2 separate regions of the Homo sapiens genome follow, and region 2 is linked to region 1. The links are contacts of gene promoters, found by promoter capture Hi-C in blood cells and fetal thymus (Javierre and others, 2016). All regions are on one chromosome and are shown on one strand. The core of a region is centred on a gene start or on the middle of the fragment in contact, and the rest is flanking DNA. Distances in the headings are between cores, read along the strand shown.

Region 1 (6,194 bases), core at 2,769-5,268:
TTTTACCAGAAGGGCACTTCCATCCTGGGGCGACTCCACATTGGACTGATACAAGGAGACCCCACAGTCCAAAAAAGCCAAAACAAATATTAAATGTCAGGAAATCTGTTGTGTGGGGGTGGGGGTCTGTGAACATAAAGGGAACTGAAACCAACCACACCAGAGGCCTGCGGATTCTGTGTGAAGGCTGCCTCTTCCCACTAAATCACCAGTCCCAGGGTCCCCCGCCACCTCCCCCGGGTCTGACCCATCTCCATCATCACCACCCCCTCTCGGAGGTCCCACCCTGTCAACACCTCCATTCTCAGCTTACTTCACATTGGACACTAATTCCCCAAACACCTTTTTTCTTTGTTTTTGTTTTTTCAGGTTATTGAGGTGAAAAACAAGGAGAAAAAGGAAGAGAAAAGACCAACTGCGGATGCTTCAGATTACAGAATTGCTTTATGCCTCAGTTTCCTCACTTGCAAAGTAGGAAGAATAACAGTGCCCACCCTCCTAACGTTCTAGTGAAGACTAAATGAGGTAAAATATGTGAAGCACTTGCCCCAGAGTCTGAGGCAAAAGTGAATACGTGTCACTATTAATTATTAACATATTAGTGTTAATATGTAATAATATTATTGGTCAAACACAGGAGCTTAGAAGGGAGAAATAAAAACCAGACCAACCCACCCTTGGTGCTACCAAATATCTTGGTGCAGGAAAACAAAGTCACCAGCCTTAGCACTGGGACACCCCAGACGCATGCTCAGATACAAGCTTGTTTCTAGCCCCTGCCTTGCTCTCCAAGACTGGATCAAGTTTGCCTTCCCCGAGAAGCCACTCCTCAATGCCCACTGACATCAAAATATCCAATCCCCAGCACTCTGGGAGGCCAAGGCGGGTGAATCACTTGAGCCCAGGAGTTAGAGATAACTTCTGATCCAATAGAAAGCTCTAGAGCACACAGAGCAAATATACTTCATCAGTCGAGCTGTAGTTTCTCTGTAAAAAACTTCGAATGACTTCCAAAGTTCAAAAAAAAAATGTAAAGACAACAGCGTGATTGCTAAAGATTCATGTGGTCAAAGACTGGAAGAATGACACAGTGGAGGTGTTCCCTCAGGGGAATTGTGGGTGATTTCTCTTAAAAAAAAAATGCCTCTTATTGTGATACCCAATCAAGTAAAATCATGAGAGAGGAGAAAGTGGTTTGATATAAAGGAAGCACTTGGGATTCAGTGAAACCAGAAGAGAAACTAGCCCCTTCCCTTGCTCCCTGGACAACAGTCAAGTGGAACAAAGCAAACTCTAGATTGTCACAACGATAAGGCCTAGAAGTACATTGGGTGTATGCATTTTCATCCTGAGTCAGAACTACCATGCTTTTTTTAAAAAAAGATCATTATTCCTGGCCAGGCGTGCTGGCTCATGCCTGTAATCCCAGCACTTTGGGAGATTGAGGCAGGTGGGTCACCTGAGGTCAGGAGATCCAGACCAGCCTGGCCAACATGGTGAAACCCCTTCTCTGCTAAAACTACAAAAAATTAGCTGGGCATGGTGGTGGCACCTGTAATCCCAGCTACTCAGGAGGCTGAGGCAGGAGAATCACTTGAACCTGGGAGCCAGAGGTGGCAGTGAGCCGAGATCACGCCATTACACTCCAGCCTGGGCAACAAGAGTAAAACTCCATCTCAAAAAAAAAAAAAAAAAAAAAAATCATTATTCCTTGGGGGAAACAGTACCTGTATCAAGATGTTTTGGTCCAGGCACAGTCTCTCAGGCCTGCAATCCCAGCACTTTGAGAGGCTGAGACAGAAGGATCCTTTGAGCCCAAGAGTTCAACACCAGCATGGGCAACATGGAGAGACTCCTGTCTCTAAAAAAAAATTTATTTTTTATTTATTTTTTGAGACGGAGTCTTGCTCTGTCACCCAGGTTGGAGTGCGGTGGCACTATCTCAGCTCACTGCAACCTCTGCCTCCTGGGTTTAAGCAATTCTCCTGCCTCAGCCTCCTGAGTAGCTAGGATTACAGGCACACGCCACCATGCCCGGCTAATTTTTATATTTTTATTTAGTAGAGATGGGGTTTCACCATGTTGGCCAGGCTGGTCTCGAACTCCTGACCTTGTGATCCGCCCACCTCGGCCTCCCAAAGTGCTGGGATTACAGGCGTTAGCCACTGCGCCCAGCCTAAAAAAAAGTTAAAATTATCCAGGTGTGGTGGCACATGCCCATGATAACCAGCTACTAGGGAGGCTGAGATGGGAAGGATCACTTGAGCCCAGAGGATGGAGGCTGCAGTAAGCTATGATTGTGCCACTGCACTCCAGCTTGGGCAACAGAGCAAGACCCTGTCTTTAAAAAAAAAAAAAAAAAAAAAAAAAAAAGCTTTTATATCTGTAAACAAAAGCCACAGCCCAGTAACCAAGAGAGGGCTGCTCTTCAGTCATCCCAGAGATGGTGCTTAATGGGGCCTGGGAGTCAGATCCCAGTTCAGATATCTGCTCTGCTGACCCTGAGCAAGTGGACGTCACTCTCTTAGCCTCGGTTTGCTCAACTGTAAAACGGGAATACTCCTGCCAGGCCTTCCCACCCACCAGGTTTTTGCAGTCTGAAATGAGAGACTGTCTCTACAGTGCTGAGGGCAATAAGAGAAATACGAAGGCTTCTAGTAAGTGCCCTCAACCTCCTCTTCTTTATAACATAGTCAACAACCAGGCAGGGTTACCCCCTCCACCACAGTGTTCAGTCGTAAACGTTTGGATCCCCAAATCTGCGTAAATTCCAAGGGGTGTCGTTTGAGCCAAGGAGGGAGCTTGCCCATTGCAACCCAGGGGTGTGGGAGTGCAATTTCTCGGCCCCTTTCCAACCCCTCCCTACTCCGCCCAGGGACACCGGCAGCGCGCCCTCACCTCTGCCCAGGACGCGGCCTCTCTCCAGGTGGCGCCGGGGCACCGTGAACGTGTAGCTCTCGGCGTCAAAGCCAGGGTGGCAGGGCTCCGGCTCCTGGCAGAGCCAAGAGGAGACCTGGGGTGGGGGAAAGGTAGATGGAACCGGGTGACTCGGAGGGTTCCCTCCTGCTCACCGAAACCAACAGCGCCGCCCCTCCCTCGCTCCCGGCGTCGGGATTGGGGGAGGACCCCAGCCCGCAGCCCCGGGACGGGCGGGCAGCGACGTCACCCTCCCCCACCCCGAAACCTACGGCCGCCGAGCCCCCAGGAACTCCCGGGAGGGGGCCGCCGAGTCACCCCCTCAAGACCTAGCCCACCGTTCCCTTTCAGTCTCCTTTCTCATTTTATTGGAGATGTCTTTATTCTCCAGTACCCCACTTTCCTTAGACCGGGAATGCACCACTCCTCAGAGCGAGGGGCGCTCCCACCTCCTCCGACCTCACTTTCTTATCCCCGGGACCCTCACTCCTATTTACGACCTTTCTTGGCATGGCAGGTGCCTTTATTTCTACGGATGCCCCTCTCCTTCCCTCGAAGATCGTCCCCACGACTCCTGGCTCCCCCTCGACTTGCACCAGGGCACCCCTTCTCCACACCCCACCCCCTACACCCCGCTTCACGCCCCCACCGCCCGCGCGAGCCCACCCCGCGGACTCCGCGGCCAGACGCCCCCGCCTCGGTCTGCGCTGGAGGGGGCAGGAAAGCCGCGCTCGCCCCTCACCACCCACCCCCCACTCCCATCACTGGGGGGTCCGGAGCGCGCGAGGCTTCCAGGCCGCTCCGCTCCTCAGGACCCGAACTTTCTTGGAAGAAGGGAAGCGGTGACGACGGGAGAGGAAGGGGCGCAGGGCTGGGGCGCGGAGCTTGCGGCCCGAATGCGTCCCTCGCAAGTCAGGGGATCCGGGGTACCTGCAGCAGCAGCAGCAGCGCCGAGAGGCTGCGGCTCCAAGGGCCCATGGCTGGCCGGGGACGCCGAGCGAGGGCAGGCGCCGGGTGCGGTCGGGTCGGGCCGGGCTGGAGCGGGCTGGAGTCTGAACTGACTTCCGCAAGCTCACAGGTGCTTTGCAGTTCCGACGCCACTGAGAGGGGGTGCGTGGCTGCAGCCAGGTGAGCCCCGGAGGCACCGCCCCCCGTACCGCTGATTGGCTGAGGGTTCACCTGCCGGCCACAGCCAATCAGCAGCGCGGACCCCTCCCCAGGGCGGAGCTGACGGCCCGCCCACCCGGCCTCGCATAGACGCGGTGACCCTCTAGCCTGGAGTTGCTAGGGTCTAGGTGGGTTATGGGACCTGCACGGTTCTGATTCCACTGGGTTCGAATCCCAGCCCCGCCGGTGGCTCACTAAGACCTGGGATCAGAAAGGGCTTTTACACTTGGCTGAGTTCTTTTGTTTTTTGGGATTTTTTGTTTGTTCGTTTTGGAGATGGGGTCTCACTCTTTCACCCAAGCTGGAGTGCAGTGGTGCGATCACAGCTCACTGCAGCCTCGAACTCCTGGGCTCAAGCGGTCCTCTGGCCCCAGCCTCTCTAGTAGCTGGGAGTACAGGTGCACACCACCACGCCAGGCTAATTTTTTTTTCTTTTGCCTTTTTGTAGAGAGACAAGTCGGGGCGGACAGGGGCAGTGGGGGCGCTGTGTCTCCCTGTATTGCCCAGCCTGGTCTCGAACTCCTGGGCTGAAGCGATCCTCCTGCCTTGGCCTCCCAAAGTGCTAGGATTTCAGGTGTGAGCCATGAGCCACTGAGCTAGCAGCCTAATTTTTTGTTTGTTTGTTTTGTTTGTATTTTTTGAGACGGAGTCTCGCTCTGTCTTGCCCAGGCTGGAGTGCAGTGGCACGATCTCGGCTCACTGCAACCTCCGCCTGCCGGGTTCAAGAGACTCTCCTGTCTCAGCCTATTGAGTAGCTGGGACTACAGGCGTGTGCCACCACACCGGCTAATTTTGTATTTTTAGTACAGACGGGGTTTCACCATGTTGGCCAGGCTGGTCTGGAACTCCTGACCTCAGGTGATCCACCCTCTTCAGCCTCCTGAAGTGTTGGATTACAGGCGTGAGCCACTGCACTCTGCCTCGAGCGGCCTAATTTTTTAAAAAATTTTTCTAGAGAGGGGATCTCACTATGTTGCCGAGGCTGATCTCAAATTTCTGAACTCAGGCGATCCTCCTGCCTCAGCCCCTTTACTGAGTTCTCATTTTTTAATCTAGTCTTTTTTAACTGTAGAGCTTCATGGGTTAGTGAGTCAGCAAATTGATTCCCTAGGTCAGGACCACCTCCCAAAGCCTCAGTTTCTCCACCCTCCTAATGGGAATAATGATCAGAAATGTCTCCCTATGCTGTTGTGGGACTCCCATACAATTAAAATGACAAATGTTTCTTGAGCCATAAATGCTCTGTACAGAAGTGAGGGGTAAAAATAGTAACAATAGGGCCAGGCATGGTGGCTCACGCCTGTAATCCCAGCACTTTGGGAGGCCGAGGCGGGCAGATCACGAGGTCAGGAGATTGAGACCATCCTGGCTAACGCAGTGAAACCCCGTCTCTACTAAAAATACAAAAAATTAGCCAGGCGTGGTGGTGGGCGCCTGTAGTCCCAGCTACTCGGGAGGCTGAGGCAGGAGAATGGCATGAACCTGGGAGGTGGAGCTTGCAGTGAGCCGAGATCGCGCCACTGTACTCCAGCCTGGGCGACAGAGCAAGACTCTGTCTCAAAAAAAAAAAAAAAAAAAAAATAGTAACAATAGGTGCTGGACATTGAAGATTACTGTGCCAGTCTCTGTGCTAAGCATTTGACACTGACCAGCTCTTTTTTTTTTGAGACGGAGTCCTGCTCTGTCGCCCAGGCTGGAGTGCAATGGTGTGTTCTTGGCTCACTGCAACCTTCGCCTCTTGGGTTCAAGCGGTTCTCCTCTATCAGCCTCCTGAGTAGCTGGGATTACAGGCATGCGCCACCACGACTGGCTAATTTTTGTATTTTTAGTAGAGACAGGGTTTCATCATGTTGGCCAGGCTGGTCTTGAACTCCTGTCCTCAGATGATCCACCTGCCTCAGCCTCCCAAAGTGCTGGGATTACAGGCATGAGCCACCGTGCCCAGCCACTGACCAGCTCATTTAAGCTCATTTCAAAACAACCCAAGAGCTGTATTATTATTCCCATATGATAGATGGGCAACTGAAGCTTAGAGAGATTGAGGCCAATGAGAGGTGGCGCAGGACTGGAACCAACCTCTCTGATTCCAGGGCCTTTCTTCTAACAATCAG
Region 2 (6,760 bases), core at 726-3,225, 380 kb before region 1:
CCCTGGGGGCTTGAACACAGAACAGGGAGATGGACAACCACTTCAAAGAAAGACCCACCGAATGCAGTTTCTGCTTGACTGACTGGGCCTGCAGCTCCCTTCTCCTGGGACTTAGAGGTGGCCAGATTTAAGGCCCCTCTACTCATCCAACTCCCTCTTCACTGGTACTCCCAATCAATCAAAGAACCTCAAAATTTAAACTGATGTGGATGGGAATATGGGAATTAGGGTGGGGGTGGGGGATGAAGGGAAGAAATCACTGTGCTTTGTTCGGCCTGGTGTGCAAGGATGGTTGGTGGTTTTCCTGCATTGTATCTTTTCTTACTGTTTCTTTAATAAATGGGATGAGAGGGCTGCTGGTGTCACTGTGTTTTGTTACCTGTTTCATAGGGAAGGAAGTTTCCTCTGCTTTTCATTGTTTCAGCTTGGCTACAGTCTTACATCATGTCGGCTAAAATGCTTTTGCTCCAAGAGGAAGCAAGCTTTGGTTTTTAGTCTTAGCAAGGGCCCATTCATCTGCCAGTTAGTTATTTCACCAAAGACCCTCTACACTAAAAGTTAAGCCCCCATGGGTGTAGTTACCAGGATGGACATATTGCCCAGGTCTTGAGTCCCACCTGACTAAACTTTCTATTTTAAGTCCCTCTTTGGAAACTGGAATAAAGAGCTAGCTTTCATTAAATACAAAGTAGTAGTTTCGAGATAACCGGCATATGTGAGAATCTTTATTTTGACAAATAAGTGCAGTATAAAAAACTTGACCTGAAAATTAAAAAAAAAAAAAAAAGCAGGTAAAAATAAATATGTTTACAAATTATTGTAGAAACAATACAAAAGAGGATTTGAATTCTCAATGAGGAAAAACCAAAATGCGTCCAATTGTATAAAGGCTCTTCCCTTGCAAGAAACGGGGATAAAGCTGAAGACCCAGTTTGGTTTTGCTGCTGAAAAATGTACAAAATAACTTAGAAAAACCAGTCGAGGTCAAACGTTGTGAGCCCACTACCTGTACCTGCCTGTTTTTGATTTGAGGAAAGTTGACGACCACAGTGCAAGGCAGAGCTGATGGTAGGACAGCCAGGAGAGCCTGTCATCCTACATTAATCTTCAAGTAAATGCTGAAGAAAAACAAGCCCTTAGCGAAGTCTGAACTCTGCACTTGGCTGACCGGATTTCCTCCATTCTAATGCTCAAAATAGTTTAACTTCTTGGCCAGCAGAACGATTGCCTGGATCAGCTGCCTTAGCAAATGCCTGCTGCCTTCCAGCCTTCATGGGTTGGGTCTGATGTCAACCAGCAGTCTTACCAGAAACTCGAGGTCTGTGTGATGTGGCAACTGTTAGCTACACCTGGAAAACCCTTGAGTTCGTGGGAGATGAAGGAAAGCACCAGGGTTTGCCCATCTGTGGCTCAGAGCACACCTTGCGTCTTTGTAGGAAGCACTTGGTACACTAGAGGCTTGCCCTCTTGTCTGCTGTCCACCTTAGTGCTGGTTCTGCACGGGTTAGCTGGCCCCTCTGAGAAAGGACATTTGGAGGGCAAGCAAGCAACCCTTAAGTCAAAGGCTTAGTCAGGATCCCAGGTTTTAAACTCAAAACGCTGAGAACAGCCTGGATTGCAAGTCACTGGAAAATGGCTTCCCCTCATTCCCCAAAAGCAGCAGAGGGAAAACAGCCAAAAACAGCCTCAGGAGGCATGAGAGAGAAAGCAAGAACCTTAGGATGTAGGAACCAGTTTCATCTCCTAGTTTGGTTTCTGGAAAGAAGCAGGCAAATGCAGTGACTGTCACAACTTGGCTGTAAGAATTCCCTGGAGAAGCCACTGAGGAGAATGGATGGTCTCAAAGATAACCATTTTGGATTTGAGAGTTCACTTTGGGAACACTGAAAAGCTTTCCATTGGAGATGATTGTCAAGAACAGTAGCCTGAAAGTCACACATGCTAACCCGGCTGCCAAGGAATCCGTCCAAGCAGCTCCAAGATTGTAGCCAATTTGATCAGAGGCTCCTCATAGTTCCCATATGTGCTGAGAACACGCTTGCCTCCTGCTGAAGCTTCTATAAGAGCCGGGGCTCCGCCCCAATTGCCACCTTGAAAACCTTACCTATGATGATGAGGGTAGAAGAGGTGACTGCAGTGATACCTCAAAAAATGTGGCTTTGAAGAAAGTGAAGTGGGGAGTGTGTCTTAGCCTCAGATCAGAGCTGAATTTGAGAGGAATTCAAGAGTATACAGGTTAAAATACCCAAGACTTCACTTCTTTTCTGAACATGTTGGGGCTTAATCTTTTTATCTCCCCAGCAGAGATCACAGACAAGCTAAGAACCCATCTAGACGTCTGAGCAGTTTCCAGGTGGAACACCCAAGGCCTCTGTGTAGCTTATGGCCTCCTTTAGCACCACCACAATCTCTTTGTTCCTCCTGGCAAACTTTCCTTTTTAATGTGCACTTTTAAAAGCAGTTCAGTGCTAACTCCCTGCTGGTTTGGCTCATCCCTGGAATGTTGATGTGGAGTGGGGTATCTCACATAAAGCACCATTCCTGGACCCTGTTTTCTGATGCCCAAAGATCAGGCTTCTGGGCCTTGTATCTCAGGCGCAATCTTATTGCATTGATGACTACTTAGGGGTGGGGTGGGGGTGACATACACTAACCGGCCCAGCTCGCTCAGTAGAAATTCTCCTGCCACCTCTGGTTGTGTTCAGATGGGCTGGGAGAACCTCCTTCCGCAGGTTGCCGTCACTCAGGTACCTATCACAAGTTGCCACTGAATGGGACTTAACTTGGTTTAGCACAACTTCTGAGTGCCCTCTGGAGCCCAGGAGGAGGCTACTGCCTATGTGCAGATGCAAGCAGACAGGCAGTCTGAAAACACAGAATCCCCTGCAGCCCTGCATCTGGGGGATCAGTGTTGCCTCCTCTAAACAGAGCTGTCAGGCCATACTACATCACCGTTCTTTGCATTTTAGATTTGTCCTTTGGACCATTAAGAGACTAAAACACAGCACTCCCTCCTCCCTCCCACCCTGTCTTTTCTCTTCCATTCCCCTTCCCTCCCTTACCCATTGCACTTTACCCGCTCTGCTTGGGGGCCATGTCACACCTCAGCAAAAGCCAAGCTGTACTGCTCCGGCTTCTTCCCACATCGCCGGGCGATGATGGCCAGATATAGCATGAGGAGGGCCACCCAGTAGCAGCCATACAGTATAGCCCCAGAGACAAGGAAGGCTAGCTCTGTCTCACTGAACAGGTCCTGGCAATAAGCTGTGTAGGCCAGCCCTCCCAGGAGAACTGCCACCCAGATGGACACAGGAATGAGGCCAATGAAGTTCACCACAATGGTTTTTCGGCCAGAGGTGCCCCAGCCAGATTTGTTGATGGTAGCAATGGCAAAGATCTTGGCCGGCAGAAGGCTGGACATATAGAGGAGGGAGTAGAGGGACATGAAGATCATCTCTGCATTGCCCCGAAGGAAGCAGGCGTAGGTGGCCTTGATAATGCCCACCAGCTGCACCGTCAGCAGGAAGAGGAGAATGTTCCAGATGCGGCCCCGGTAGAAAAGCTGTATAACCGTGGCAATGAGGAAGAAGGGGAAGAAACCCGTGACCACTGACTCGTAGGTCATCCAGAGGTGGTGCTTATGGAACCACAGAGAGTTGTAGAGCCACTCCCGGAAGTAAGACTTGCTCCAGCGGGTTTGCTGGTTGAGCCACCGGAGGTACTTAGTGGGGGTCTCTGTGAGGCACTTGGAGCGCGCGGTATACTTAGTTCGGTAGCCAAGGCTCAGGACTCGGTTGGTGAGGTGCCGGTCATCCCCGAAGCTGCACTTGCTGCCTAGGAACTTCTGATGGTACCAGTCCTCCAGGAACTGCTGGAGGAGGCTGTTGCGGTACATGCCCAAGGGCCCACTAATACACTGCACACAGCCAAAGTAGGACTGGCAGGCCCGCTCCACGTTGAAGGCCATCCAGTACCGCACGCTGCTCAGGAAGGAAATCCATGAGTCGTACTTGTTGAGGATCTGCAAGGGAATAGAGATGCTGGGCCTCCTAAGGTTGCACGTCCGGAGGACAGACATCAGAGACCACGAGGCCTCCTTACCATGGCTTCTGTGGCCCGCTGCTTAGATTCCTGGCCATCGGTTCCTTTGGAGCTGGGAAACCTGAGGCTCAGAGGAGCCAACCACACACAATCCCTGTCCCCAGCACCAGCTCTACCTCCCTACTGTGTCATCTTATCTGCAGAGATTTTCCCCACTAAGTGGCTCTAGCAGTCAAAGCCACCTTCGGTCTCAGGAGGCAGCCTGTGGTGGTGGCAGAGAAGGGGGCTTGGGAAGAATGCAAAACACCACCACAACCACCTGTCCTGAGATTTCTGTGGTTGGAAAGTTGTAGGGGACCTGGGATGCTGCTTCAGTATCTCTGGCAGATTGGGGCCCTTATTCTTACCGTATTGACCAGAGCTCTTCAGCCCATCTCCTAAGAGCAAGGGCTGCTCAAGGATCTGACTTTGGAGCTACTTGCTGTACCACCGGCCAAAAAGGAAGTACCTTCTAGGATGTATGGCCTCAAAATACTGTGCCCCTCCTGCAGTATAGACTCTGCTCCATACCTGTTTAAGTGACTTCCCCTCATGTGGAAGAAGAGCAAGAAAGGGGTTGGGCAGTGAGGGGGGCGAGCTCTTTGGTGTCAGTGAAAACTGCCAGCGAGGAACCTCCCCCCAATACTAGGAAGTCAAGACACCCATTTCCCAGGCATATCCAATTGGATTAGGAAAAAGAGTCCAGACCCCTCCCCACAGATATCCCTGGTCTCATCTTACCTGGACATCTCCCCCGACTCCCCCTACTTGGGGATCCTCCTCCAGGACTCGAAGCATCTCGATGGTGCAGGCTGGATCCAGCACAGTGTCAGAGTCGCACACCTGCAGAGGGAGTGCGTCGTCAGCCCATTCTGACCTCAGACCTGCACACCCTGTCCCCCACCCCACTGCCAGGCTGCTCACTGCCTGAGAGACATGACCCCTTCACACATGACTCACTTCCAGCCTCTAGCTAAGAGATCTGCGCTACCAGAAGGTGCCAGAGGTAAAATGAAAGCTAGTAAAAGTGTACAGCTACCAGACTTGACAGCCACTAGGCTGAGAGGGAGAAACCCTGAAGACAGTAGGTGCCAGGCGTGGAGAGAGACATGCTTAGCACTGGACGCAAAAAATTGCTCTGGGGTCCTTCGGCAGAAGGGAAACGTCACTGAAATCAGATGGCAGGCACAGTAGGGTAGCCCAGGACTAACAGGCTGCATATGGCCTTAAGTGACCCCACAGAATTAACCACAGGGGTCCCCGTGTCAGCCTCTGACCCCTTGGACAACCTGCAGCCCACTGGTGGTTACCAGACTACCTACTTGCAGGCACCTCTATGAGACCAGTAATAAGGCTGCTGGCCTCTGCGCCCTCAACAGACTCCCTTGGCCGAGCCTCTCGGACCAGGGCACGGTATGGCTGAGGGCTCCCCCTGGAGGCTGCTCTGAATAGGCATGGAAGCTGCAGCAGCTGCCTCCAGGCAGACCCCAGGGCCAACTCTGCCCAGCTCTTGGGAGGCTTATGGCCTGATTCTAACAGGTGGTCTCATTATGAGTTGAACCCAGGCCACTAGTTGCCCTAGTGGCTGACTCCTTTTCTGGTTTCTAAAAAATTAGTGAAGTGGTACACAAATCCAGTGAGCATTGGCCAGGAGAACTGGTTTACAGACCTGATTTACTCTGTGGTCACTGTTAGGAGAGCAACAAAGAGATCCACAGATAAACCAAAACCCTGTTCTGTAGAAGCCTAAGATCCTTGTATTAAAGTTGCTGAGTAAGATTCCTGCAGGAAAGGAGGCTGCCTCTGACACCACAACCCCACCCAGCTTTCTCTATGTTGGAAGACAGGGTGGCCACAGATAAGCAGTAGAAGGCTAAGGGGGAATCAGAACAGCATCAGCACCAGGCTGAGTCCCTCATATGTGCTTCTTCCCACCTCCCCACCAGGCATATCCTTACATCCTGGTCCATGCCTGGGAAGGGCCCAGGAAGCCTCAGGCCAGACTAGCAGAGCCTCCTCCACTTACAGGCCAAGACTCCCAGCACTGCTGCTGTTCTGCTGGTCTCACTGCTCCTCCCTGCCCCTGCCCTAGCCCATTCTTTATATGCTGCTTTGCTTCCTTCAGTCCAGGGATGTCTTGGATGTCTTTCTAACTGAGCAAGGTTAGGGAAAGAAGAGCTCTCGTGCTGCCTGGGTTTCCCCACTGGCTCGGGCAGAGTTCTGCCTAGGAGGGAGAGATACCTCCGCAGCAGGCGGTTAGAAGACAGGCTGAGATCCAGCAAGCGCTCACTGGCTCTGGCCCAGGGCAACCTTATGCAGTGATCCCAGGGCTGTAAAGAGACAGCTCAGGTGTGTGAGCCTGTTTGCTGATCCACCAGAACCCAGATGGCCAGGAAAGGGAGATGGCAGGGTGGGGTGGGGGTGAGATCCTGTGCTTGAAGGGAATAGATGACAAAGTCACTGTGGCTTGAGCCTGTGCCAGGGCTCAAGGGCTTTTCCCTAAGCATTTGGGTCCCCAGGAAAGTTTCACAAGGTCCCACGACCCCAGGTGAACTGCAGTCAAAACAGCCTGCTAAGCTCTCCTAACTCCCTCCATGACTGAGGAGGTCCTGGGCCTAGGAAGCCAGAAAAAGATAAACATATCAACCCTCATGCAGAGACAACTGTCAAAAAAGCCAGA

What was found. Contacts are between HindIII fragments. The CHiCAGO score rates a contact against its expected background, and 5 or more counts as called.
Region 2: a fragment that was not itself captured here is called in contact with the fragment with the promoter of CDH1 in region 1 in 1 of 17 cell types (megakaryocytes); the score reaches 6.0 in megakaryocytes.

Annotation. Positions count from the first base shown.
Region 1 is chr16:68,735,116-68,741,309 of GRCh38, reverse strand. It overlaps CDH1 (cadherin 1), which reads right to left and starts at 4,018. Exons shown (of 16, transcript NM_004360.5): 1 at 3,847-4,018; 2 at 2,899-3,013. The coding sequence starts at 3,894. RefSeq lists a silencer at 3,903-3,972, a cis regulatory region at 4,925 and an enhancer at 4,853-4,997. The HindIII fragment of the contact is 3,737 bases long and covers 2,377-6,113 here.
Region 2 is chr16:69,111,604-69,118,363 of GRCh38, reverse strand. HAS3 (hyaluronan synthase 3) reads right to left here. Exons shown (of 4, transcript NM_001199280.2): 3 at 4,822-4,923; 4 at 704-4,021. The coding sequence ends at 3,098. DERPC (DERPC proline and glycine rich nuclear protein) reads left to right here. Exons shown (of 3, transcript NM_001002847.4): 3 at 1-354. It overlaps CHTF8 (chromosome transmission fidelity factor 8), which reads left to right. Exons shown (of 4, transcript NM_001039690.5): 4 at 1-354. Among named protein-coding and RNA genes, the nearest start is that of HAS3, 9.3 kb to the right of the region's middle. The HindIII fragment of the contact is 163 bases long and covers 1,894-2,056 here.